Regions from separate parts of the Homo sapiens genome. Here regions 1, 2, 3, 4, 6 and 7 are each linked to region 5. Evidence: promoter capture Hi-C in 16 types of primary human blood cells and fetal thymus (Javierre and others, 2016). All regions are on one chromosome and are shown on one strand. The core of a region is centred on a gene start or on the middle of the fragment in contact, and the rest is flanking DNA. Distances in the headings are between cores, read along the strand shown. Region 1 has its middle 16 kb from the start of TMEM263-DT. Region 2 has its middle 33 kb from the start of TMEM263-DT. Region 3 holds the start of ABTB3 (ankyrin repeat and BTB domain containing 3). Region 4 has its middle 55 kb from the start of TMEM263-DT. Region 5 holds the start of POLR3B (RNA polymerase III subunit B). Region 6 has its middle 8.5 kb from the start of CRY1. Region 7 overlaps CRY1 (cryptochrome circadian regulator 1).

The links. The method cuts DNA at HindIII sites, captures the fragments that hold promoters and counts their contacts. A CHiCAGO score of 5 or more calls a contact.
Region 1: a fragment that was not itself captured here is called in contact with the fragment with the promoter of POLR3B in region 5 in 13 of 17 cell types (endothelial precursors, naive CD8 T cells, naive B cells and 10 more); the score reaches 10.1 in endothelial precursors.
Region 2: a fragment that was not itself captured here is called in contact with the fragment with the promoter of POLR3B in region 5 in 16 of 17 cell types (endothelial precursors, fetal thymus, megakaryocytes and 13 more); the score reaches 25.4 in endothelial precursors.
Region 3: a contact is called between the fragment with the promoter of ABTB3 here and the fragment with the promoter of POLR3B in region 5, in 1 of 17 cell types (fetal thymus). The highest score is 5.3, in fetal thymus.
Region 4: a fragment that was not itself captured here is called in contact with the fragment with the promoter of POLR3B in region 5 in 6 of 17 cell types (fetal thymus, endothelial precursors, megakaryocytes and 3 more); the score reaches 12.3 in fetal thymus.
Region 6: a contact is called between a fragment that was not itself captured here and the fragment with the promoter of POLR3B in region 5, in 8 of 17 cell types (non-activated CD4 T cells, total B cells, naive CD8 T cells and 5 more). The highest score is 8.2, in non-activated CD4 T cells.
Region 7: a fragment that was not itself captured here is called in contact with the fragment with the promoter of POLR3B in region 5 in 4 of 17 cell types (monocytes, naive CD8 T cells, fetal thymus and 1 more); the score reaches 5.6 in monocytes.

Annotation. Positions count from the first base shown.
Region 1 is chr12:106,937,893-106,940,592 of GRCh38, forward strand. No RefSeq gene overlaps it. Among named protein-coding and RNA genes, the nearest start is that of TMEM263-DT, 16 kb to the right of the region's middle. The HindIII fragment of the contact is 587 bases long and covers 976-1,562 here.
Region 2 is chr12:106,920,749-106,923,448 of GRCh38, forward strand. No RefSeq gene overlaps it. Among named protein-coding and RNA genes, the nearest start is that of TMEM263-DT, 33 kb to the right of the region's middle. The HindIII fragment of the contact is 2,711 bases long and covers 74-2,700 here.
Region 3 is chr12:107,317,016-107,319,715 of GRCh38, forward strand. ABTB3 (ankyrin repeat and BTB domain containing 3) reads left to right here and starts at 1,419. Exons shown (of 17, transcript NM_001018072.2): 1 at 1,419-2,700. The coding sequence starts at 1,926. RefSeq lists an enhancer at 1,921-2,640. The HindIII fragment of the contact is 5,525 bases long and covers 1-2,700 here.
Region 4 is chr12:106,899,016-106,901,715 of GRCh38, forward strand. It overlaps the pseudogene EEF1B2P4. Among named protein-coding and RNA genes, the nearest start is that of TMEM263-DT, 55 kb to the right of the region's middle. The HindIII fragment of the contact is 1,902 bases long and covers 331-2,232 here.
Region 5 is chr12:106,356,316-106,359,015 of GRCh38, forward strand. POLR3B (RNA polymerase III subunit B) reads left to right here and starts at 1,433. Exons shown (of 28, transcript NM_018082.6): 1 at 1,433-1,636. The coding sequence starts at 1,565. The HindIII fragment of the contact is 8,226 bases long and covers 1-2,700 here.
Region 6 is chr12:107,100,674-107,103,373 of GRCh38, forward strand. No RefSeq gene overlaps it. Among named protein-coding and RNA genes, the nearest start is that of CRY1, 8.5 kb to the left of the region's middle. The HindIII fragment of the contact is 6,074 bases long and covers 1-2,700 here.
Region 7 is chr12:106,989,364-106,992,063 of GRCh38, forward strand. CRY1 (cryptochrome circadian regulator 1) reads right to left here. Exons shown (of 13, transcript NM_004075.5): 13 at 2,001-2,638. Among named protein-coding and RNA genes, the nearest start is that of MTERF2, 3.6 kb to the left of the region's middle. The HindIII fragment of the contact is 2,768 bases long and covers 1-2,671 here.

The DNA of each region.
Region 1 (2,700 bases), core at 19-2,518, 580 kb after region 5:
TGTGGGTCCATATTGACTTAAATAAGTCAATGAATTCACTGAAAGTTTGATGAGTAATGGGAATATTTATGAAGAGGCTAAGTTGACCCTAAAAAGACTCCTTTTGGCCAGGTGGGGTTGCTCACGTCTGTAATCCCAGCACTTTGGGGGGCTGAGGTGGGCAGATTGCCTGAGGTCAGGAGTTTGAGACCAGCCTGGCCAACATGGTGAAACCCTGTCTCTACTAAAAACACAAAAATTCACTGGGCATGGTGGTGGGTGCCTGTAATCCAAGCTACTTGGGGGGCTGAGGCAGAAGAATTACTTGAGCCCAGGAGGTGGAGGTTGCAGTGAGCCGAGATCACACCACTGCACTCCAGCCTGGGTGACAGAGTGAGACTGTCTCAAAACAAAAAACAAACAAAAAAATCCAACTCCTTATAGTGGAAGGTTATTGAGTTATGCTTAATAATTGGAAAATTTACGACTTTTCCCTGCCATCAGCAGGAATGGGAGCATCAAGACAAGTTACAGAAAATAAAGAGTGCTGTATGTTTTATACATTTGGGTATAGTGTGCAAAATTTAGATTCTGCTACATGGAGCAACAATTTGATCAAAGACTTTCATGTTCCTTCACCTCCATGAGGTTCTAACAACCCCAGCCAATCCAATCAATTTCCAGGCTAAAAAGCCTAAAGGCAGATATACCTTCAATTGTCTATCACAATACAAACAGCTATCAGCTACCATGTATTGAGTACTCACTCTGCGAATGAACAGGATAATACATTATGTTACTCAATAAACACAATTTTAGCAGATGGGGACTATTAGTCTACATTTTTTGGGGGGAAAAAGGCCCAGTCAAGTTAAGGTACTTGATCAAAGTAGCAGAGTCCTCATTAAAATCTATTTAGCTATAGCACCTGGACTATGAGTCACCACACCATATTGTCCAGTCGTGTCACATTGAAACTCAGGTTTCATCTACTCAAGCTTTCATAAATCTTGAGAGGAGGAGAAGGGACATGGTTAAGACAACCCACCAGAGACCAACTAAGCCAAGGGAGTTGGAGGTGACATCTTTCATAAGCATAAAGGCACGGACAGATACATTCTTGTTCAAATTCTGTCACTCCTATAATCTGCCCTTCTCAGAAGCAACCAGCAATGGGACTAGTGGTATATTTTGGGACTACTGTCAACAAAAGGAGTCATACTCTGTAAAATATTTTAAGAGATTTATTCTGAGCCGAATGTGAGTGACCAATGGCCCATGATACTGCCCTCAGGAGGTCTTGAAAACATGTGCCCAAGGTGGCTGAGCTACAACTTGGTTTTATACATTTCAGGGAGAGATAAGATGTCAATCAACACATGTAAGATGTACATTGGTTCGTCTGCAAAGGTGGGACAACTAGAAGTGGGGGGATTAGGGGGTGAGAGGACTTCCAGGTCATAGGCAGATTCAAAGATTTTCTGACTGGCAATTGATTATTATCTAAAGACCTGCAATCAATAGAAAGGAATGTCTGGATTATGATAAGGGTTGTGGAGACTAAGGTTTTATCATGTAGATGAAGCTTCCAGGTAGCAGGCTTCAGAGAGAATAGATTGTAAATGTTTCTTTTTTTTCCTTTTCTTTTTTTTTTTGAGACAGTCTCGCACTGTCACCCAGGCTGGAGTGCAGTGGCACGATCTGGGCTCACTGCAACCTCCACCTTCTGGATTCAAGCGATTCTCCTGCCTCAGCCTCCTAAGTAGCTAGGACTACAGGTGCCTGCCACCATGCCCTGCTGATTTTTCTATTTTTAGTAGAGAGGAGTTTCACCATGTTGGCCAGGCTGGTCTCGAACTCCTGATCTCATGATCCGCCTACCTTGGCCTTCTAAAATGCTGGGATTACAGGCATGAGCCACTGCTACTGGCCTGTAAATGTTTCTTATCAGACTTAGAGAGTCTGTTCTGTCAGTCTTAAGGTCTCTGTGTTGATGTTAATGCTGGTCAGCTGTGACGCACGTCTGGCCATCCACTTCCCATCATGGCCTGAACTAGTTTTTCAGGTTAACTTTGGAATGGCCTTGGCCAAGAGGAGGGGTCTGTTCATATGGTTAGGGGGCTTAGAATTTTATTTTTGGTTTACATTCTCCCTCTTCTAGCTAAGATTTTCCAGAGGCAACATCAATGGCCACCAAACTTTTATTTTGTCCCACAACAATTGCTGAGGTGGCATGGCTGGCTGCCCTGGCTTTTCCTGTCCCTTGGTGGGACCCCTATGGTCAAGGGACTTAAGAGTCAAAAGACTTACAGCCAATTTAAATGTTCTAGGCCAGATGGGAATGAATGTGAACAGGCATTCACTAACCCTTAAAATTTTTAAGGTAATATAAAAGCCAACAAATGAAAAGCCAGAGGCGAGGTTACAAAATTGACTTATCTACCTTTAACCTCTATGTATTGAGCTACTGTGATCTTGGTTTTAGTTACAGATGAATTGCAATGAATTATACAAAACAATCATTATTAAAACCTTTTAAGCTAAGAAATTTGGAGACTTTTGTTGTGCTGCCATGCTTTTTGTGGTCTTTTAGTGATTTGTCCTAAGGTGGCCGATAAATTTTTTTAAAAAAATATATCTATTGACATAAGTCTCATAACTGGGAGTATTATACTGAAGAGGCTTTGTCATGAAGTATTTTTATATTCTCTCAGTAATTTT
Region 2 (2,700 bases), core at 179-2,678, 560 kb after region 5:
AAATTTAACAAATGCTTAATTTGTACCAGGTGGAGATACAATGGATGGGATTTTTTTTTAAAGACATTATATAAGCTTGTCCAACCTGCCTTATTTTGTTGTTGTTGCTGTTCTGTTTTGTTTTGCTTTAGGCTTTTAGCAGCCTGAAACCATGGTTTTTTGTTTCTGTCTCTAGTGATAAGCAGAAAAGAGGCAAGAGGAAGGGGCTTTACTGGCCCAACCAGAAGCAAAAACTAAGAACCCATGACTGTATTCTGTCCCTTGGCACTCCTGGATGAGATAAATAAATGTTCTAAAGGAAAAATAGTTCCGGGAGAACAGGTAAGAAGGGAAGTTAGTTTGCACAGGGGGAACACAAGGCTTCCCTGAGGAGGTGATGCTTGGAAAGATTTGGATGGTTCAGGTACCCCTTTCCCCCACCTCACAACTAACTTTCCAAGCAATTCTTTGCTTCAAGGAGGGAAAGGCCTGCCCTCTTCATTCTCTTTCCAGTGCTCAGGTAGGCACAGAGACAGATCAGTTAGCCCTTGCCTAAGCAGATGAAAGAGTGGGAGTAAGACGTTATTCTTCTCGTATTGTGGGCACTCCAATACTTACCAGTGATTCTTTGGGGACCTTCTCTCTCTTGGCCTAAGGGAGAGGAAAACTTCTCACCCCAAACACTGCACCTTCACCTTCAACAGTAGAGGATCTAGGTGTCTAGCCTCAGGTGTTGGTGCTTGCCTCCTGTGGGGGAGAACTAGCTCCTACAGGTTTCAACTGAGATCCCAGTGTCAATTTCTGAGCAACCAAAAAAGGCCCCTCAGCAATTGCACCACAAGTTCTCAGTCCGAACTAATTGATGATAGCCTAATCAGCCTCTCTTCTTCCAGTTTCTCCTCACTTAATCTATCCTATAGTGGGCTACAAAGTCGGTCTTCCCAAGAATAGTTAAAATAATGCTATTAACTCGAAACTTTCAGCATATCCCTAAATAAACTAGTTTCAGTAACATTTTTATCAATAACTTGGATTTGCTGATACTTTTCCTTTGCTTTCTTTCCCAATTCCACCCCCTTCCCCCATGTACACATCACTCAGCTTTTATTTTTCATTCTTGCTTTTTAAATTTTTTGTTGTTGTTGTTGTTCTGAGATGGAGTCTTGCTCTGTCACCCAGGCTGGAGGGCAGTGGCGCAACCTCCACCTCCTGGTTTCAAGCGATTCTCCTGCCTCAGCCTCCCGAATAGCTGGGATTACAGGCACCTGCCACCACACCCGGCTAATTTCTTTGTATTTTTAGTACAGACAGGGTTTCACCATGTTGGCCAGGCTGGTCTCAAACTCCTGACCTCAAGTGATCCACCTGCCTTGGCCTCCCAAAGTGCTAGGATTACAGGCATGAGTCACCGCAACCAGCTAAAATTTTTAAATTTTTGTGGATACATAGTGGTGTATATATTTATAGGGTACATGTGATGTTTTGATAAAGGCATGCAATGTGAAATAATCACATCATGGAGAATGGGGTATCCATCCCTTCCAGCATTTATCCTTTGTGTTACAAACAATCCAATTACACTCTTTTAGCTATTTTTAATGTCCAATTATTATTGACTATAGTCTCCCCATTGTGCTATCAAATAATAGGTATTATTCATTCTATTTGCTCTCTGTACCCATTAACCAACCCCACCTCCCTCACTCCAGCCCCCCACTGCCCTTCCCACCCTCTGATAACATCCTTCTACTCTCTATGTCCATGAGTTCAATTGTTTGATTTTTACATCCCACAAATAAGTGAGAACATGCAATGTTTGTCTTTCTGTGCCTGGCTTATTTCACTTAACATAACGACCTCCAGTTCCACCCATGTTGTTGCAAATGACAAGGTCTCATTCTTTTTTTATGGCAGAATAGTACTCCATTGTGTATATGTACCATATCTTCTTTATCCATTCATCTATTGATGGACACTTGGGTTGCTTCCAAACGCAGCTTTATGATTATCAATTAACAGCCAATCTTGTATAATTTATGCCCCTACTTTCTCTCTCCCCCACCCATAGATTATTTTTAGGCAAATCCCAGATATAATATTATTTAATTCATCAACATTACAGTAGGTACTAAATTATATGGACTCTTTAAATCATAGCCACAATATCACTGTCACACTAAAAAAATAATAATTCCTTAGTATCATTAAATATCCAGTGAGTGTTCAAATTTCCCTTAGTGTCTTAAAATTCTTTTTAACAGTGATTTGTTCAAAATGGGATGCAAACAGGGTCCATAAATTCATTTGGTTGACGCTTAAATCTCTCTTTTTTCTAAGTTCCAGAGTACATGTGCAGGATGTACAGATTTGTTAAACAGGTAAATGGAGAAAAGTTTTGAAATTTTTGAAATCCCTTTTAATCTATAGATTCCCATTCCATTTCCTTGTTTTCCTTGAAGTTTATTTGTTGGCTAAATGGGTCATTTTCCCCATAGAACTTCCACAGTTTGGACTTGTTGATTGCTTCCTTGTGCTGTTGTTTAACATGTTTCTCTGTCTCTGTAGTCTTACAAGATCCGGAGGTTTGATCAGACCAGTTTGAAATTCTCTTTCATAGGGAGAGGTATGTACTTCCATCGGGAGGCATTTATTAATAATACTTGCTTGTCTTTTTCTGTGATGTTAGTGGCCACTGACGATCATCCATGGTTGGTACACCTA
Region 3 (2,700 bases), core at 169-2,668, 960 kb after region 5:
TTTTGGGAACCTCCATGCTGTTTTCCATAATGGCTGTACTCATTTACACCCCACCATCAGTGTACAAAGGTTCTCTTTTTTCCACATCCTTGCCAACACTTGTTATCTTTTGACTTTTTGATAATAGCCATCCTTACAGGTGTGAAGTGATATTTCATTGTGGTTTTGATTTGCATCTCCCGAATGATTAGTGATGTTGAGCATATTTGCATATACCTGTTGGCCATTGTTGAACATTCAAAGCAACAATTTAAAAGCATATCCTTACGTCCTTCATCAATTTACAACAAATATTTACTGAGCACTTATACTGTGCCAGGACTATGCATGGGAACCCCTAGCCCAGTGTAGAATCCAGACAAGTAACCAGGCTTTTGCAACCTAGTGTTGCAAGGGCCCAGAAATCAGCAACCACAGAAGGGGATAGAGGCAGTGGAAGCACCGAAGCCAGTCTTGAAACATCTGGGCCAGCTTCCTATAGGAGGGGATTCTAAGCTGAGAGACACAGTGTGCGGAGCTAGGAATCCCCATGTGTGTAAGATATGGTTTCTGCCTGGGTGGGTGGGGACAGACAAGTAGATGACACGATGCTATTTGACACAGGAATGCAGCTAAGCCATGCATATATATATTATATCTTTCTTTAGTCAGGAAAGAAGATTCTCCTTTGAGCAAATTTACTCCTTTTAAGAAGGCCGAGCTATTTGGAAAGATGCCCACCAGGATGGCAAAGTGGTGCTTGAGCCCTCCCTGCAGCACACGCCCAGGACTTTGAAGCAGGGACAGGGTCCTCCTGGCTACTGAAAGGAATCGAGTTAACGCGCCCTAGTGGCAGGTGGCGAATGGCCGGAGATCCGGCCTCCCAGTGGTGTCCACCGCCACGGGCCTCCGCTCGACAGGCTTATTTCCCTCCATGCTGGAGCAAACCCCGGCTGAAAGAGGGCCGCACTAATTGGTTTGCGTACCCGAAGTGGGAATAGAGAGGGAGGAAAACCATGTTTCAGGTGTTACGGGGGGAAAAAAGTGAAATGCGAACCGCAGGGGAGAGAGCGACCGTCAGGCAGACACCTTGTGAACCGCGGTGGAGAGCACACCTAGGTGGGGAGGTCACCGGCCCAACCCACCACCCTCCGGGAGAATGCGGGCAGGGACAGCAGCAGGGGGCAGCATCCACGTCTCTACGCTTGCAAGGGTTCCCCAAGTCCCTGGCCACTGCTCCCCACTTCCTGCAGCCTCGGTGTCCGCCGGGGGCGTGTGTGAGGGGCGGGGCCGCATGGGGAGGAGGGATTTAAAAAAAAAAAAAAAAAGCGAGGTAATTAGCATTCTCCGATTCCACTGGCTCTCCGCCGCCCCTGCTTTGCATACGCCCGTCCCACTGGCTGCCCGGGGTTTGCTGGGGTTCGGCAAGGTTTGCAGCCGCCACGGCCGCTGCTGCGCTCCGGTGCAGGGCAGGCTGGCGCCGAGCGAACCAGGGCCGGGAACTGGGAGCCGGGAGCCGGGAGCCAGCTGCCCGCGGAGCTGCGGCGGCGGCGGCATCTGGGGTGGTCTCAGTCCCACGAACACCGTGGCCGGCGCCCGGTGGCTACTGCGCCCAGCGGGGCTCAGGGAAGAGCGGTCTAGACACTTTTTATTTTGGAAGAAAGGGGCAAGCCCCGGCGGGAGCTTCCTTCCCGGCCTGGCTCGCTCCCCATTGCGCCCAGCTCCGGCCCGGACTCTGGAAGATGACTCCAGGGTCTGCTCTGTATATTCCAGCGGCGGCAGTTCCGGGAGGCAGCCGAAAGTACTAACAGTTGGTAGCAGCGGCTAGTGGAAAAGTGAGCCAAGGCGGCGCGGACTCGGCTCTCCCCGCGCCCCGCGGCACTCGCTGCTCCTCGCCGCTCCTTCCCTTTGGCTCCCAGGCGGCTGCAGCATGAAGTGGCGCAGCGATGGCCAGGAGAGGTAAGAAGCCCGTGGTGAGAACGCTGGAGGATCTGACGCTGGACTCGGGTTATGGTGGCGCGGCGGACTCGGTGCGCTCCTCCAACTTGTCTTTGTGCTGTTCCGACTCGCACCCGGCGTCCCCGTATGGCGGGAGCTGCTGGCCGCCTCTAGCTGACTCCATGCACAGCCGGCACAACAGCTTTGACACTGTCAACACTGCCCTGGTGGAAGACTCCGAGGGGCTGGACTGCGCCGGCCAGCACTGCTCGCGGCTGCTGCCGGACCTAGACGAGGTCCCCTGGACTCTCCAGGAGCTGGAGGCGCTGCTGCTGCGTTCGCGGGATCCCCGGGCAGGCCCGGCGGTCCCCGGCGGCCTGCCCAAGGACGCGCTGGCCAAGCTGTCGACGCTGGTGAGCCGGGCGCTGGTGCGCATAGCCAAAGAGGCGCAGCGCCTGAGCCTGCGCTTCGCCAAGTGCACCAAGTACGAGATCCAGAGCGCCATGGAGATCGTGCTGTCCTGGGGCCTGGCCGCGCACTGTACGGCGGCTGCGCTGGCCGCACTGTCCCTCTACAACATGAGCAGCGCCGGCGGCGACCGCCTGGGCCGCGGCAAGTCGGCCCGCTGCGGCCTCACCTTCTCCGTGGGCCGCGTGTATCGCTGGATGGTGGACAGCCGCGTGGCGCTGCGCATCCACGAGCACGCCGCCATCTACCTGACAGCCTGCATGGAGAGCCTCTTCCGGGACATCTACTCGCGGGTCGTGGCCTCCGGGGTGCCCC
Region 4 (2,700 bases), core at 32-2,531, 540 kb after region 5:
GGGTCAGGAGACTTAGATCGAGCCCCACCTCTGGCACTGACCAGCTTTCTGAGGTAAGCATGTCCACGAGCAGTGTCAGTCCTGGATCTGCAGGCCCTTGATTGGTGATGAAAACTTGCCCTTCCAGCGTCTCACTGGAATCTCACCAACACCCTGGAAAGCAAGTTGGGATCCTTGGCCCCGCCATCTGCACATAAGAAAACGAAGTCTCAAGGAGGGAAAGTGCTTGCCGAGGGTCACACAAATAACAAATAGAAGAGACAGTCTTCATCTCCAGGAGAATCCCTTCCTTCCTTTTCCATTCCATTGGCCTCGGCGAATGGGGAGAGAAGCTTTCCTTCATGAAAACCCCATAAGGAAAGCCTCTAGGAGGATGTAGCCGCATCTTCTGGGGACCAGCACTTCCCACAGAGGTTGCTGGGCACCAACTCTAAACCAAATTATATCTGTTAGAAAGCAAGAAGCGGCCAGGTGCGGTGGCTCATGTCTGTAATCCCAGCACTTTGGGAGGCCGAGGCAGGTGGATCACGAGGTCAGGAGATTGAGACCATCCTGGCCAACATGGTGAAACCCCGTCTCTACTAAAAACGCAAAAATTAGCCAGGCGTGGTGGCGGGCACCTGTAGTCCCAGCTACTCAGGAGGCTGAGGCAGGAGAATCCCTTTGAACCCGGTAGGTGGAGATTGCAGTGAGCGGCGATCACACCACTACACTCCAGCCTGGGTGACAGAGCGAGACTCTGTCTCCAGAAAAAAAAAAAAAAAAAAGCAAGGAGCAGAAACCTCACTCAGTCTGGCTTATATAAGAAGCGAATCTCACAACATCTGGAAGCCCAGAGGGTTGATCTAGCGGCTCCACGCTGGTAAGGAAGCATCGCTCTGCTCCATCACTGCAGAGAGAGCTTCATCCCGAAACCCATAGCCAAATGGCAGAAGTTCCAAGCATAACATCCAGACATGACAATAGCCAAGAAGATCGCCTTTCCCTGCAACTCCCTCTTAAGAGTAAGAAACCTTCCCAACAGACCTCCTGAAGACTCTTTGGACAGAATTGGGTCATCTGCCCATTCCTGAACCAATTATCAAGGGAAATGGGATCACCCTTAGTTAATAAAAGCCTTTACATGGAACTAGGGCTCAGGTCAGCTCTCCCTGAAGCCCATGGTGAGGAGTGGAGATGTGAGAAAATAGGATTCTGCTGGAAAGAAAGTTGTAGAAACAAATTTTGGATATACAACCAATAGTGACCACTGAACCAACAGCATCCACTAAAGAGGTTTGAGAACTACATGGCTCTGACTATGTACCTGTTGGAATGGCTAAAATAAAGATGAAATGTGCCCCCAAAATGAGACAATGCATATTAAGTGCTTAGCATAACACCAGGCACATGGTAAGCAATCAATAAATACTATCTGTTATTATTATTGTTATTATTATTACCGAGATGGAGTTTCACTCTTTGTTGCCCAGGCTGGAGTGCAATGGCGTGATCTTGGCTCACCGCAACCTCCACCTCCCAGGTTCAAGTGATTCTTCTGCCTCGGTCTTCCGGAGTAGCTGGGATTACAGGCATGTTCCACCATGTCCAGCTAATTTTATATTTTTAGTAGAGATGGGGGTTTCTCCATGTTGGTCAGGCTAGTCTCAAACCCCCAGCCTCAGGTGATCTGCCTGCCTTAAGCTCCCAAAGTGCTCGGATTACAGGCGTGAGCCACCACGCCCGGCCAAGAGTCTGCATTTCTAACCAATCACAGCTGAAAGCAGTGATACTGGTCTGCAGACCACACCTTGAGAAGCAAGGCTCTAGGTCTCAGGGAAAGCATGAATCAGAGGAATTGGAGAGAAATGGAGGGGAGGGGTTCTCCCACAGGTGGTGGGAACAAATCTAGAGTGTAATGTTCCAAAACTGTTATCAGGTCTGCATTTAAAGTTGGTGTCACTTAAGAAACATAGGTTACAAAATGACTGGTTACCACATATTAACAAGAATTAGACAAGCCTGGACTATACTATTGTGATTAAAACAACAAACAAATAGGTAGGGTGTTTTTAAAACACTCAATTGCTCTGCCGTCTTATTAAACACATGGCCTTATGAGGTAGATTTTAGCATTATCCCCATTTTACAGAGACTTCGATGAATTTGCCCAAAGTCACCCAATCAGCATAAGTGACTAAAACCAGATCAAATTTCCAGCTTGTCTAACTCTACATTTTTTTTAATCTTTCAAGCTTTTATTTAAGTGCAATGATCCAGAATGGAATTTAGATCTTGTTGAAAGCAGCCACATCCATGGGCTATACATAATCCTGAAAAGCAGCGATCTGCTCCTCCAGCATATCTGTTCCAAATTTATCATCTTCAACCACACACTGTATTTGAAGTTTCTTAAATCTGTATCCCACTGGAACTAGTTTAGATGAGCCCCAGACTAAGCCATCTGCTTGAATGCTTCTGACTCACTCCTTTCATTTTGCCATATCTGTCTCATCATCCCAAGGTTTCATGTCTAAGATGGAAGACTTGGCAACAAGTGCAGGTTTTTTTTCTTTTAGGTTTGATGATCCTCTCTAATTTTTGCACTTATCATGTATTTTTTCTTCTATTGATCTTATTTTACTTTTTTTTTTTTTATGGAGTCTCTGTCACTCAGGCTGGAGTGCAGTGGCACGATCTTGGTTCACTGCAACCTCTGCC
Region 5 (2,700 bases), core at 183-2,682:
GTAAGAACTTCAAAGGCAGGGTTGATTCTACTTTTGGTGTTTTTTCCATTCTTCTCGTATTTCAGATATCAGTGCAATACTTAGAAAATACGGCCGGGCGCGGTGGCTCACGCCTGTAATCCCAGCTACTCGGGAGGCTGAGGCAGGAGAATGGCGTGAACCCGGGAAGCGGAGCTTGCAGTGAGCCGAGATTGCGCCACTGCAGTCCGCAGTCCCACCTGGGCGACAGAGCGAGACTCCGTCTCAAAAAAAAAAAAAAAAAAAAAAAAAAAGAAAATACAAGTACTGAAATTTAAGTAGCTCTTTAGTAAATAAGAATAATTAACCTGGTGCAAGGGTTCTACCTTTATGAGGGAGAAATTGGAAAGCATATATGTACTTACAAATTTTCATAACTTTTCTTATCGTTGTAAAATATACATAAAACTTAGCATTTTAACCCTTTAAAATGATGTACAGGTCAGCAGCATTAAATACATTCACACTGTTGTGCAACCATCACCATTCTCCATTTACAGAACTTTTGCATCTTCCCAAACCGAAACTCCGTACCCATTAATTAATTGGTGCATTTTGCCTTGTTTTTTCTAATAGGATTTTTCTTTCTGTTGATTTGTATGAGCTCATTTTAAATTAGAGAGACCAGCCCTTTGTCTTCTGCCAATTTATTTTTTATTAATTCTATTTGTTGGTGATTTTTTAAAATCTGTTCAGAAAATTAAAAATTTTCCGTGGAATCATAAAATCGTGTTTAGATTATAAAATCCTTTATGATTTGACTGTTGCCGTCTTGAAAGTCTTCAACATCTCAATGTTATGAATATCTGCACTTACATTTTCTTCTAAGTTTTTGTTAACATTTCAATATTTAATCCACAAAAGATTCACTTACATGTATTTTTTCCCCAAATGGGTAATCAGCTCTTCAAACATTATTTACTGGACAGGCCATCCTTCCCCTACTAACGTAAATGTCATCTTTTCATATTAAATTTCTCCATGCGCTGGGTATTTACTCCTACATCTTCCATCTAGTGCTTTTGAGAATTTTCAACACTCTTCCATTACACGCATGTACCATCATTTATTTAATCAATCTTCTATTGGTAGGCATTTGGGACGTTTCCTGCTCTTCCATACTAAACAATGCATAGAATTTTGGACTACATTAAATAATTCTCTGCCTCAGTGGTTCAAGTTGCGTAAATTATGCGTTTACACTTTTCTTCGGATTACTTTTAAAATGACAACCACTATGTTTTGCTGGTCTCAATTACCAGAGAATTGGCAAGAAACCTGACAGCTGGGGCTTAGGATTCCCTGCGCCAGACCTCCGAGCTACACCAGAGGGCGTACTTTCCTTACTCGGCCTCGGCCACATCCGGGTTCCACCGCAGATTCGGGCAGGGAGCGGGCGGAACCTTTCTACCGCGTCTCTAGCTAACACGCACGGCGGGGACAGTTTAGGCCTCCGCGCACCGTTCGCCGGGAGTCTTGCAGTTTGCTTGGTGCAGGGAAGGCGGGCGCGGAGGTTCTATCTGTTTCTTCCTCCTTCGTGAGCAGCATGGACGTGCTAGCGGAGGAGTTTGGGAACCTGACTCCGGAGCAGCTGGCGGCGCCGATCCCGACTGTAGAGGTCAGTGCCAGGCACGCAGGGAGCGTCAGGGACAAGGATGCGCCCTGAGGGGGCGTTGCCCGGAGTGCTCGGGCCGCCAAGGGGGCGGGCTGGCGGTTTGTGCGCATGCGCCGGGCTTCTGCGCATGCCCAGAGCGTCGCGCTTGCGAGTCTTTTTTCCAGAGCCGGCCTCCGCGTGCGCGAGTGAAGGCTGATCCCAGAGGAGCTGTCAGCCGCTGCGGGGGCCGAGAAGCCCCGCTGCTGGCTCTAGGGTTGGAGCTCTTCCAGCATAGGTGTGCGTGGGGAGGACTGACCCTCGCACTTACTGTGGGGGACGTATTGCATGTTTGCAGTCTTACAGAGGACACGGGGCCAGGGAGCTCAGGCCATTTGCATGAGGCACCACAGCCGGCTGTGGGGGTAAAACCAGATCGTCTGAATTCCAAGCTAGTCATCTTTCCTTTTAACTTGAAGTTCCAGTTTGGGTTGCAGGGGAATTTTAAACGCCCTCAATATTTACTAAAGAATTTGCCTGTGTGTTTTCTGGGGGAGAGACTCCACAGCTTTCATCAGCTTCTCGGAAGTTAAGGACAGCTGCCCCACAGCGAGCTGCCCAGTGAAGTGCGGCTGTCGACATATTTTGTTATCTGATAAGGCACATTTTGTAATCTCTCTGAGCCTCAAAATCTACACTGACGTGGAATAGGGAAGTGGAGACGTGGCCGGAGAAGATAGCAAAGGAGAGATTTCAGGGAAAGAGAACAGGATACTTGAAACCTCCTCGGCAAGACCATTGGATGTTTTTGAGGAAGGAAAGTAAATCCAGTAGTATTAGAGTGAAGAAAAATAGAGGAGAAGAGATAAAAGACAGGGTTAAGTAAGGGTCTTGATTATGAAAAGTTTCAATAAACATCTGACAGAGCTTGGACTTTGTCTTGGAGCAGAGCTTTTGAAGGGTTTAAGCAGGAAAGTGACATGATCAGTAAGTCTATCGGATTATAAGAACCTCCTTGGCTAGGCGTGGTGGCCTGTAATACCAGTAGTTTGGGAGGCCAAGGCGGGCGGATCACTTGGGCTCAAGAGTTT
Region 6 (2,700 bases), core at 162-2,661, 740 kb after region 5:
AGCTCCTGGACTCAAGTGATTCTCTCATCTCAACCTCCCAAAGTGCTGGGATTACAGACATGAAACACTGTGCCTGGCTAAAAAGGGTCCCTTCTTATTCTTTATCATAGTTCTCTATTTACTTTTGTCGTGGCACCAATTATGATCTGTGTTTTTGTTTGTTTGTTTACTTATTTATTCTCAGTCAACCTATGCCTGCTCCAACCCCAAATGCAAACTCCAGGAGGGCAGAGTATTTGTTATATCATTACTACTTGCTACAATGCCTTGTGCTCAACTCTTAATCCATTGTTCTTCTAGAGGCCCTGCTAACACCCAATTGATCACATTTAACACTGCATTTCATCCATATATTAGTTATCAATTTATTGCCTCTCAGCTCCAAATTCATCTTTCATTACTTCCTCTCTGTTAATGGAACCAGGCCCTGTAAGGATTTCATCTTTGCCACTGGCACGATGCTAAACATTCTCAGTAGAGAGCATTGGAGGGAAACTACAGGAGGAAGGGGCTTCTCTTCCTAGTTCCGGTCTTTCTGTTTTCTTTTTCTTGTACTTATTTTGCCACTGACAAAGATGCCTTGGAGAGGGACATGCGGTAGCACTCACTTCTGTCAGGTTTCACTGGCATCTCTGCTGGTGGATCCAGTGAGTCTTGCGGGCATCCCCACAGTTGGCTACCCAGCCTCAGTCCACCTGCATTCTGGGAAGGTGTTTCCTATGGCCACTCCCATCCATGTTTTCTGCCCTCTGGCCTCTACCTGGTGAATGTAGACCCCACCTGAGCTCAGGGAAACGCAGCCAACTTCTTCATTATCCAGTGGCTACAGCAATACATTCTCCAATGAGATCCGAGTCCCACCCTTAGAGAGGATTCCCTGCACTCCCACTTCCAAGTTTGTCCTTTGTTGGGTATTCTCCCTCAGTACTTTTGAATATTCTTTAGAATTCCCCCTACACTTTTTAAATCAATCATCTGTTATAATTGATCATTCTATTTATTAAATATTTCCTGTTTGATTTACTGTGTGGTTTCTGTGTCTGATTGGACACTGATTGATATAGTCCATGAACTGACCTAGTCCACCAGAATGTACTTGTGAACAGTTCTCTTGTTCTTACCCTTTTTCTTGACCAGGTACTTTTAGAAAGTGTAAATAGTTACAAATGTGGCAATATGATATTGTGAAATATTAGCCAATGTTTTTTCCCCACAGATCTTTTTCTGTCCTGTGACCATCCCCATGCAGGTCATTGGATGGGAGTCTTTTCACCTCAGAGGGGCAGAACTAGAGGACAAAGGTAGTCCAGCATTTTTTTGTTCTAAATTCAAGAGCCTTGGTCCGGATGTAAATCAGAAAAGATTTGCTGCTTCCCACTCCTTCTCATAACACTGTATAAAAATCCTCCAGGCTGGGGTGGAATATGAGGGCAAGGAAAATAAGATTAAAATTATCTATCTTAACTAAAGTAAGAACAAAATATCTCATCTGCCTTTATCTAGGATTAGCTCCAGATGTCTAGATAAGTTTAGGGTGATCTGAGGGTAGAGGAGATTTGTGCCAGCTTCCCATCTGAAATCTGGAGGCTGAGTCTCATGGAAATTCCATGCCACTTTGCTATGGCTCAGCACAGTAAGCCTGTATGGGATGCCACTGGGCCTCAGAAGCCTGCAGGCTAAGAGAACAGGTGGACTTTTCTAGACTTTTCCTCATCTTTAGAGGGCCACAAAAATTACCTGAAAGACAAAACCAGATAACTAAGGGGTTATGCCAAGGGGACAGCATGGTACAAGGTGTCACAAGAGGTTGTGGCCAAAGACCAGATGGGGACATGGGCATCTCAACACATGCCAGCCTGGAGAGATAACATTTGAAGACCAGACAGGATCATACATTCAGCAAATGACAGTGTAGACAGGTAAGGAATGTCAGCCAGATCAATACCCTTCCTTTGTAAGGATGTAATGTTCCTTAAGCATCTGGGGACAGAGATGCTATCCTGAAGAGAAGCAGGAGACATCTCCTTAGATGTTTTTCAGAATTGATTGAATTTCAACGTGAAATGATCTAGAATTGACTAGCCCAGTTTTCAACCAGTGAGCAGACTGAGACTTTAAAATAGTTTAACTCTAGTTTAGCTCTAGAAAAATGAAGGCAGGCTGGGCACGGTGGCTCATACCTGTAATCTCAGCACTTTGGGAGGCCGAGGCAGGCAGATCACCGGAGGTCAGGAGATCGAGACCAGCTTGGCCAACATGGCAAAACCCCATCTCTATTAAAAATACAAAAATTAGCCAGGTATGGTGGTGCGTGCAGGTGGTCCCAACTACACGGGAGGCTGAGGCAGGAGAATCGCTTGAATCCAGGAAGTGGAGATTGCAGTGGCTGAGATCATGCCACTGCACTCCAACCTGGGTGACAGAATGAGACTCCATCTTAAAAAAAAAAAAAAAAGTGAAGGCATCTGATTTACAGACTGAAAAATATAGTAGTTGCTACTAAATCCAGCCAAATGTTGTAGAAACTCCAAAGACCTGCACAAGCTATCTGGCACTGCGATCTGGCCTGCCTCTGCATCCTCTTCGCGGCCCATCCATCTCTCTGGCTTCTACTCTTCCCACTCTCTTCTTACTCACTCCTTGCTCTTCCTCAAGCAGGCCAGCAATGCTCCCTCTGGCCTTGCTACTTCCTCTGCCTGG
Region 7 (2,700 bases), core at 38-2,537, 630 kb after region 5:
TTATTCACATTAAAACTGAATCTTTGGCCGTGCGCGGTGGCTCATGCCTGTAATCCCAGCACTTTGGGAGGCCGAGGCCAGCGGATCATGAGGTCAGGAGATCGCGACCATTCTGGCTAACGGTGAAACCCTGTCTCTACTAAAAAATACAAAAAATTAGCCGGGCGTGATGGCACGCGCCTGTAGTCCCAACTACTCGGGAGGCTGAGGCAGGAGAATCGCTTGAACCCAGGAGGCAGATGCCGCAGTGAGCCGAGATCGTGCCACTGCACTCCAGCCTGGGCGACAGAGTGAGACTCTGTCTCAAAATAACAACAAGAAAACTGAAATCTATGACCTCTTGTACGGTGATGGTAAATCTCAGGTCTATGAATTTCTCAACTCTGCACTGTACAACCAGGTCCAAAGAGTAGGATGTGAGGTACACTTACCATAAAAAACAATTAAAATATTACTTCACTTTAACAGTGGTGAAAAAAGAACGATAAAGCACAGGATTTTTTCTTATTCTTTTTCTCGGTAATGGATTTCCCACCTGCCGCCCCATCCCCGAGACAAGGTCTCACCCTGTCATCCAGGTTGGAGTGCAGTGGTGCAATCATAGCTCACTGCAGCCTCAAATCCCCTAGATCAAGCCATCCTCCCACCTCAGCCTCCCAAGTAGCTGGGACCATAGTGCACACCACCACACCTGGCTAATATTTTTGTTGTTTCCTTTTGTAGAGATGGGGTCCCAAGATGTTGTTCAGGCTAATCATTTTTTTTTTTTTGAGACAGAGTCTCACTCTGTCGCCCAGGCTGGAGTGCAGTGATGTGATCTCGGCTCACTGCAAACTCCGCCTCCTGGGTTCATGCCTCAAGTGATTCTCCTGCTTCACTTCAGTTTCCCAAAGTGCTAGAATTATAGGCATGAGCCACCCTGCCTGGTCTTCTTTACTTTTTTTTTATTTTTATATTGATTTTTTAAAAATAGAGATGGGGTCTTGCTAAGTCTCCAGGGCTGGTCTCAAACTCCTGGCTTTAAGTGATCCTCCCGCCTCAACCCCACAAAGTGCTGGGATTACAGGCAATGAGCCACCACACCCAGCTCAGATGAGGTCTTGATCTGTCCACCCAGGCTGGAGTACAGTGGCACAATCATAGCTCACTGCAGCCTTGACCTCCTGGGCTTCAGTGATCCTCCCACCTCAGCCTCCAAAAGTGCTGGGATTATAGGCGTGAGCCACCACACCTAGCCTCAGTAATGGAATTTATTGATCATTGTTAATTCACTATCCAGGATATTTTTAAAAATGCATATCATCTAAAATGTTATCGTTTCTGTATTTTTACTCAACTTTTATCTTCAGTTATCTTTAAATTATCATACTAAATATCTATCATGATTAATGATGGGAAAATGAAAAGCCACTGGTTATAATTCAGAATGGCAAGAACTAACCTACTAGAGAACACTAAAGGGATAATAACAATACTAATAAAAATAATGGCAGCTAACCAGAGCTGTGGCATACAGCTATGCAGACTGTGCACTGTACACGACAGGGGGTGACACAGCATGGCAGCCCTGTGGCTAACACTGAGTACCCTATCACATGCCAGCTCATAAGTATTTTACATGGAACTGAACTATAAAGCAGATACTACCCTCATCCCTATTTTATAGATAAGAAGAAAGAAGACATAGAAGGTTAAACTTGCTCAAGACCTCAAAGCTAATGAATGGCAGAAATGGGCATTTGACTCGAGAGCTCACTCTATTGATTGCTAGCCCATACTGCCTGATTTATGGTTACAAATGCCATTACTTGAAAAAAGTCCCTTTAGTTTTACCTCTTTCTTGCATATAATTTTGAAAAACACTGTTTAACTAAACATATGGTAGCTGTTCCTTCAAAATGATGATGTGGTTTATAGAATCTCTTTGTAATTTGTAATCATATATCATACAGCAATACTCTCTCCCTTACCAAAAAAGAAAAAAAAACACGTACACAAGATTTCATATTTGCATATACTTTAATAACAAGTTCATTTTAGTAATAAATGAACAAAGAAACAGAGACAGAGAACTTAACACATGATACTTCCACAAGTTTGGGTCTAAAAAGGTTTACATCAAAGTTTAAAACATATACTGTCTGTGTTAACAGAGGCTACAATACCAATTTGGATTACGCACATTATCTAAAACATTATTATCAAAGAGTGCAAAGTTAGATCAAACAACATCAAGAAAATTCTGTCCTAAAATTTTAACGTCTTTTAAGAAAGTCTAAAAACCTCCTTTTTTCCCACTGACTTCAAAACTTTGAGTTTTATATCAGAATATCAATTTGTCATTTTAACTTTACCATACATGAAAAATTATCAAAAATATATCGATGGGTCTATACTAATTGTGACTGTTTATATTTACATTAAGCAAATTCTCTTGCCAAGTTCTTTATATACAAATTACCAATTGTCCTCTGTGAAATTCATTAAAAAGTTAAAAACCACAGAAATGTCATTAGAAACAACATATTTCAATATGTAACTGCTTTCCATCAATGAAGAATATTTTTAAATAACTTAATTGAAAAGTATTGAACTCCCCACCAATTTCAGCTGCAACAGTATTCCTCCTGAATGTTTTCTGTGATTTAAGGGGGAAAAAAAAACTAGGTAAAGCTTGATTGCAAATAATTCAATGACAAA